2 separate regions of the Homo sapiens genome follow, and region 2 is linked to region 1. Evidence: promoter capture Hi-C in human tissues and cell types (Jung and others, 2019). All regions are on one chromosome and are shown on one strand. Each heading gives the region's core, a stretch centred on a gene start or on the middle of the fragment in contact. The rest is flanking DNA. Distances are from core to core; before and after follow the strand shown. Region 1 holds the start of NKX6-1 (NK6 homeobox 1). Region 2 overlaps LINC02994 (long intergenic non-protein coding RNA 2994).

Region 1 (3,878 bases), core at 1,087-3,586:
ACCCAGGCCGAGTGTACTCGGGCGGCGAGGGCGAAGAGGTGAGGTGGGGACACCCCAGGCGGAGACGTGCATGCAAATACACTCACTTCCCGGGCGGTGGAGGGCTCACCGCTGCCGGGCCTCACTGCTTCGAAGAGAGGCAGCGGGTTAGGCTGGCGAAGGCGGAATGGGGCGCTGGACGACAGGGAGGAGCCGGGAAAGCAGAGATGCAGTGGCCTCTCCTCCCCTCTCCTCCCCATCTTTCTAATCCAGGCCAGGCCTGCGGTCCTGGCCAGGCCGTTTCAGGAACAGCCAGGGCCTCGGACGAGACACACGTCCCTCACCGCGTTGTGGTCCACACGAACACACACACACCGGCTCAGCCCAGGCGTACTCAAGACTTAGAGAGAGGGAGGCGCTTGGATACAGCCACGCGAGCTCAGAAAAGCGAGAATCCCTTTCTGGAAGCCCTGGCCCAACCTAACTGGTGTGATTCCGGCGCTGTCAAACTACTGGGGCGGGCCACAGGATGGACTGAGCGGCATGCACACCAGGGGCCGCGACCCGGGAGTGGGCAGAACAGGCACGGCAGGCAGGCATCGGGGCGCGGGTGGTAGTACTCACGAGGGGTACAGGCCAGGCGTGCGTCCCTCCAGGGCGGGCTCTGCATCACTCCGGGCCAGAAGATGGGCGTCCGGCCAGGCAGCTCAGCCAGCGGCTTGGGGTACCGGCCCACGGCGGCCACGGCCGCGGCGCTGGGGCTGAAGTAGAGCCCGGGCGGCGGCGGCGGCGGGCTCAGGCTGCTAAAGCGTGGCAGTCCGGCCAGCAGCCCCGCCGGGGATGAGGCGGCGGCTGCGGCCGCGGCAGCAGCCGCGGCGGCGGCAGAGGCGGAGGAGGCAGAGGCGGACGAGGAAGAGGAGGAGGAGGAACCGGAGGGCGAGGCGGAGGGCAGGGCGGCCCCCGAGGCCACGGGCATGGAGGGCCGGCTCAGGATATCGTTGATGCCGTGTGGGGTGGCGGCCGAGAGCTGCTGCGGGGGGCTGCCGAGGGATGAGAGCCCCCCCGTGGCCGGGGGCTTCAGGCCGCCTGGGTTGTGGGTGCCCAGAGGCGGGGAGGGCGACGAGGAGGACGACGACGAGGACGAGGAGGAGGGGGGGCCGGCAGGCAGCGGGGGATACGCGGCAGGGTACAGCGGGGTCTTCATCTCGGCCATGCTGTGCAGGGCGGCCAGGGGAGGGCTGCTGAGCAGGAATGCGCTCTGCCGGGTGCCCTCCATTGCCCCCACCGCTAACATCCCACGGCCACGCCGGAGACCGTAGCCTTGCAGCGAGGGCGCTGGCTGGTGCCCCCCGCGGGGCTCAGAGGAGCCGGAAGCGCCGAGGGCGCGAGCGGAGAGGCACTCGGCGCGCCCGGAGGCGAGCTGCCAACTGAACCAAAAATGCCGCTGCCGGGAGTTGCTCGCCTAGCTGCGCAGCAGAGATGTCCAAACCCTCCACGCGGGAGGCGGCAGCTCGCCGAGAAAAGCAGGCGTCCCGGCGGGCTAGGCAGTCCTTTCGTTCCGCGAGTCCTAGATTCGATCCCTGGCTATTCTCTCTTCCTCACTTTTCCTAGCTGTTCAAAGTGCGCTACTTCTCATCTTCTGCCCCCGGGAAATAAGCAAAACAAAACCCAGGCTGGCTCCGGAGAGTTTGTAGCAAAGTTAGTTGCCGAATCTCCACTTTGAAGTTGGAGGGTGGGGGTGGCTTGCTTTCTTTGGGGAGGTTCAAAGGACGCCTTGTGCAGCCCGTGGCGCTCCTCTGATCTTACTGGGATGCTCTGCTCTTTCGGTCGCGCGGCTGATTCGCATTCGACGCTCACTGTGCCCGGGGAGAAAGCGCATCCAGCCCGCGGGAGATCTAGCCTCTGTGCGGGCTTCCTCCGCCCACGCTGCCCCGGGCTGCTGCGCCAGAAAGGGCAGTGCCACGGATCCCCGCGGCTCCCAGGTCCTCACCTCCACCCGCCTTGCCCTCTGGCCCACGGGGCACTGGAGTTGCAATATTGAAAAGAAAAAGGGGGAGGAAAAACACAGAAAAACAAAAGACTAAGTGTGAAAAGTCTGACGGCTGGGTTTCGGCGCCGCTCGTCAGTCCACTTCTGCAAACGGGCCCGGCGACCCCCGCCCCACCCCCGCTCCCTCTCTCCCTCTCACTCTCAGCCTTTGACTCTCCTCTCTGGCATTTTCTTCGCGGCTTCCCAGGCTTCGGTCTTCTAAGTCCTGTCCTCTGGCCAAACTGACCCTCTCCGCGGCTCCTCCGCTCTTTCTCTCCTTTCCTCTCTCCCTCCGGGCCTGACAGTTCAGATGAAGCTCTCAAAGGTAATAAAACATTTGCATCACTCCCTACCCCTCTTTAGCTGGGGGACGAAAGGGAGGGGGAAGTGGGGGACCAAAATGAGAACTTTGAGGGACGTCACTCCGAGGCTGCGGGGGCCGGCGAGCCGGGCGCAGGCCGGGGGCGTAACCACCGTGTCCAATAGCTCGCCGCCTCGATCCTTGCGTCGCCCCTGGGGCTCGCCCACTCGGGGGCGCCGCACCCTCTGATTGGCTGAGGCGGGCCAGGCGTAGGGCCGCGCCCGCCTAGTCCCCTCCCGCTCCCTACTTCTTTCTCCTGTGGGCGGGGCCAGGAGGGGCGGGAGCTGGTGAGTGGTGCGGTTCCGCGCTGGGGCCAGTGGCCGCCTCAATTAATTGTGCTAAATAAAATGAGAAAGGGGAGGGGGAAGCAGAGACGAAGAGGGTATTACTTTTTAAAGAGAGGAATAATGAAAACTCAGCCCTTTTATGGAAAAGCAGTTCATATTCTTCCCTTGCTTCCCCACTAGCCCGCTCGCGTCATCCTATCCCCTTCCCCCACCAGCTCTGGAGGGCGCCTCACCTCGAACCAAGTCTGGTCCCTTGTAAAATGGAGCTAATGGAGCAGGCAGCCGGCGCAGCCCTGGCCTGGCTCCTTCTTTTGAAGGGATTAATTAAAGGCCATCTGGGCTCTCCCAGAATTGTGTAAATTAATTTGTTGCTCCTTAAGCCTTATAGATGTCCTTAATCCCCTTGTAGGCCAAAGGATCGTCCTCTTCCATCTTTCCACCTCCTGCTTTCCTTTTCTGTTCTTTCTCCTCCACTTTATTTTTTTTTTCATTCCCGAGTTCCCCCCCGCCCGTCGCTTCCCACCGCGTTCATTATCATTTATGGGTTACTCAATTCGCTGAAAACTGAATCCGTTTAATAGGAATATTTATCTGTCAGATGATGTTTATACCTGAGAACAGTGAGGGAGTTTTTTCCCTTAACTTTTCTCCCTTTGATTATTGTTGTTATTTCCTTTGGGTTTACATGGGGGTAGAATCATCAAAATTCAGGCGGAAACTTTAGATACAGAAGCATCTAGGTACACCCTGGGAACTGTAAGCTTTTGAAAACCCTCTCCAAAACTCTGGCGCCTACTCCCAATTCTAGAGTTGCTACGGGAGATGGAGATGTACCAGCTCCTGGACAGTGGTGGTGGGATGTCTATCTAGAGTTTAGGAGTTGAAGGGTGGCTTCCTTTACTCTCTAAATCTCTTCCATCTCTGGCTGATCTTTACGTTCCCGACAGGGTTGAACTGCGGGCTGGAGAAGGAAAACCCTTTGACAATTTTGAGAATTCAGCATGTTAAAGTAACACACCATTGGAAGGTGGTCGCTACAGCAAATTTGGATGAGATCATTAATTACAATTTTAATGAGCAGAAAACAGAAATAAACGCAATAAATGGCTCAAGAATAAAATTTGATCAGCACCACCGACGGATGGAGTTTAGCTATTGGTGTCAAAGCGCTCATTTGGGTCCAAGCACGAAAAGCCAGGAGGGCGTACTCCGCTTCGATAACC
Region 2 (3,999 bases), core at 1,467-3,966, 260 kb before region 1:
ATCAATAAAGCTGAAATAAACTAACCACAGGATATCTGGAATACAATTTTGACCAGCTGTGCCTATCAGGCCTCTTCTTTAAAAAGTGAGCTTGTGTTGCGTTGTGTAATAAATTGTTACAGAAACCTATCTAGAACTTAAAAGTTATTCTGGCATCTGGCTGAAAGTTACTGTGAGCATTCTAGAAGAATTTCAATAGGAATAGAAAGGACGGGGAAGTGAGTAAAGTCATTTCAGAACCATTCTTGAAGGGTAATACTGGCGTTCCGGAGGGATTTCAGTGCTCAGCTAGAGGGCAGCAGAATTATTGCTGAAGTATTCCTTGTGGAGAGCTTTAACCTCATGGCCGAAATGCATTCAAAACAATTCTGCTGTGATAGTAAAAAATATATATCCATGCTGTGCATTCCCAGAAGAGCATTTTGGCCTGCTTATTCACATGAGCCAAGAACTGAAAAAGAGCTAAGGGGTAAATTGGTAAAGTGCTACCACAGAGATTTCACTCTAAATGCTGGCTGGGGAAGCCTTGTGGTTTCAAAAGGTTAGAAACTTTAGATGTTTTACAGGGTACGTGCCAAAATGAATAATTCATAGAAAAATGCTAAGTCTATTCAGGTAAGATTATATGGTAAAGTAAGAGAAAATGCCAGATTAAAAAAAAACTCTTTTCTATGTGATCCTGCAAAGCCCTCTAAATTAATCCTCCACATGTACCCTGTGCATAGCACTGTGCTGGGTACTAGGGAGATACAGCAATTGTATCTCAGGCTAACTGAGCACATAGGACATCCATATAGTCAACAAGTACTTATTTAACACCTACTGCTAGGTGTTGAATGCATTCTGAAACAACGTGCTTGACCTAAAACTGTGTAATCAAGTAAGAGAGACATCTAGAAAGAATAAACTGCCATCAGTCATGGAAAAATCAGCATTAAAATTTGTACAGGACAGATTGTGCAGGGCAGTTAGTAAGCTTCTCACCTACCTTCCTACTTCCAGTCCTATGCCTTTCCCGCCCACCCTCTCCATGGCTCAGAACTCCTCCCCATGGCCTTGCAATGTCCTGTGTGCTGGGAAGTCTGATGATACAGCCACCCTTATCTCTCTCTCTCACTTTTTTCGTTTTTTCTTTTTTTTTTTGAGACAGAGTCCTGCTCTGTCAACCAGGCTGGAGTTTAGTGGCACGATCTTGGCTCACTGCAACCTCTACCTCCTGGGCTCTTGCCACTCCCTCCCATTGAGCTTCAGCCAGTTCCTTTTGCCTCAGGCTCCTTGGCCTCAAGGCCTTTGCCTAGGAAACCAGCTTAGCCACTTCACGTCTCATCACATGGCAAGTTCCTTCCCATCCTTTAGGTCTCAGCTTCAATGTTACCTTCTTAGAAAGGCCCCATGACCCTATCTATAAAGTATATAATTCATTTTATTCTCTATCTCACCTCCTTTTTATTGTTTTCTTTTTGATGCTTACTCACAATTTCTAAGTATTTGTTTATTTGTTTACTTAGAGACCTTCATACTAGACTGGCAGGTATTATACTATTTCTGTCTTGTTCACCATTATATATCCAGTACTTAGCTCAGTGAGTACATAGTAGTTATTCAATAAAATTAGTATTTTACTAAGCACAGCAGTTGCTTAATAAAATGTGTTGACTGAATGGCTTAAAGTGACCAATGCTGGCACTAGCCCAACTAAATAAAAATAAAATTCAAATCTCAATTATAAATTCTTTTTTTTTCTTAGAGACTGGGTCTCACTCTGTTTCCAAAACTGGAGTAAGGTGGTATGCTCAAGGCTCACTGCAGCCCCAACCTCCTGGGCTCAGATGATCCTCCCATCTCAGCCTCCCAAGTAGCTGGGACTACAGGAGTATACCACCACACCCAGCTAATTTTTGTATTTTTTGTAGAAACAGGGTTTTGCCATGTTGCCCAGGCTGGTCTTGAACTCCTGGACTCAACTATTCCTGCCGCCTTGGCCTCCCAGAGTGTTGGGATTACAGGTGTGAGCCGCTGTGCCCAGCCCTCAATTATAAATTGTTATTCTCCACAAATTCCCACAGTGCTCAAGATAGTGGTTTACAGGGAAGTATGAAAGTCAGGTTCCAGTTAAAATAATGCTGTTTCTGTTTCTATTGAAAATTAGGAACTGATTTATGGTGATTTGATGGGACAGATTAACAGCTCTAGAGGGACTCCTTTCCAGTCTACCTTCCTTCCACCAGCCAATCCCCTTACCTCAGGAGATCAAGTGATGATATGAGTGGGTCAAGTCCAAACATATTAATTGGGATACTTAGTATCATCAAAATAATTTAAATAAATCACTGTTGGGGCAAACACTGTCTTCTTTTCTTAGTGTAATCCTATAATCTGAATGTTAAAAACACAGAGAACTAAGATTTGAGTATGGGGATAAGGGAAAGCAAATCAGGAAGGCTACTCTGCAATCTTGATCCTGGCTTCAGGGCTGCCTATTGCAAGCTAATAGAGTTATGGATTCCATGTGTTATGATCTGGATCATTAGGAGACCTTCTTAGGTTGAAGTTAAAGAGAGAAAGTTTGAGTCGAACTGCAGAAGTTTGAAGAGGGCATGACCTCCCCATACCATCCTTAGGATCTTGATATGGTTTGGTAGTTATTCTATCGTGTAGACTCAGGATCCTGAATCCTGGGAAAATAACATCTTAAACAACCATCTTAACACAATATATTCCCCCCTCCGGAGACTTGTTGGTAGTAAATAGAAAATTTTTGCTGATGGCAACAATCCCATGGAGAATGGCAGATTCTACTGCAATTTCTAGAGAGCTGAATGAACAAGTACAGCACAGATTAGGAGCTTGGATTTTAGAAAATACAACAGAAGATGGTGTGGGGCAATTAACAAGTGGGAGATTACTGCCATGTAGTAATATGGTGCCTGTCTTCACTCCAGGGATCTTCAGTAAAGTTATTAACCTCAAAGAATTCATGAGTGGGTTTGAAAATTGAAAAGTTAGGAGGGGATGAAGTCTATAGTTGCTCCTCCCGGTGCCTCTGTCTCTGGGCGGAGCTATACCACAGGATTTGCACTAATCCTGAGGAAGGGGCCAGACTTGTACAGACTGTGTGATAGCATGAGTCAAGTTTCTAAAAATCAAAGCATTAGAGAAGTCTGTATGACATTTAGTTTAACTATGGGAGTCCCACGTGTGTTCCTTCCTCTAAAGCACTCAGTTGTATTTTGGATTTAATCACTACCTTAAAACTGGGAAAAGTGGGCCTTCTATGAAATTGCCAACCTGTGAAGATAGAGAAAAATATAACACACACTGAGAATCAGGCACTGGGGCCCAGGTATTTCTTAATGCAGCAAGTTATCCAAGTGATGAAGTAGCCAGCACAGAATTGGTTTATAGCCCAGCGCTTGAGAGTCATTGATTCAGGATATTGTACTTTTCTTCATGTTAACATGGGTAATCAAGAGTTAGTTTTCATCACCTGACAGTTGTTAGGAATTATTTTTCCCCAATTATTTTTCTCTGATGTTTATTAAAATGCAGATTTTTGAGCCTCAAAAGGGCTTACTGAATGGGAATCTCTTGAGAATGAAGCCCAGGAATCAAAAGATGACACAAATTTTTCTAAGTTGATTGAAGTTTGAAAACTATAGTTCTTTCCTTTCTATTCCCATAATGTGAGACATTTCTGTGCTCACCCACTATCAATCTTGCTTCCTATGACCAGATGACTAATGTGTTCCAGATCCTTCAGCTTTCCTATCCCTTGCTGTTATCACTACTGTAACTTCTGCCAAACAAAGGATGCATCTTCATCTTCAATGGGGTGGCTCTGGATCGCTGGCCTAAAGTATTGTGTAACGGCCTCTAACTACTCACATTCCTGCACCAAAGCCTGCACTTCTGAGTTTCCGACATTTACCGCCCAGTGATGGAGTTAGAAACTTATGTATGGGATTATATATGATCTAGCAATTCCACTTCGGAGTAGTG

Evidence for each region. Contacts are between HindIII fragments. The study calls those that stand out against the background at their distance.
Region 2: a fragment that was not itself captured here is called in contact with the fragment with the promoter of NKX6-1 in region 1 in 1 of the 25 tissues and cell types used here (dorsolateral prefrontal cortex).

The regions. Positions count from the first base shown.
Region 1 is chr4:84,496,956-84,500,833 of GRCh38, forward strand. NKX6-1 (NK6 homeobox 1) reads right to left here and starts at 2,337. Exons shown (of 3, transcript NM_006168.3): 1 at 604-2,337. The coding sequence starts at 1,273. The HindIII fragment of the contact is 8,742 bases long and covers 1-3,878 here.
Region 2 is chr4:84,238,390-84,242,388 of GRCh38, forward strand. All of the region lies in intron 5 of LINC02994 (long intergenic non-protein coding RNA 2994), which reads right to left. Among named protein-coding and RNA genes, the nearest start is that of LINC02994, 59 kb to the right of the region's middle. The HindIII fragment of the contact is 9,303 bases long and covers 1-3,999 here.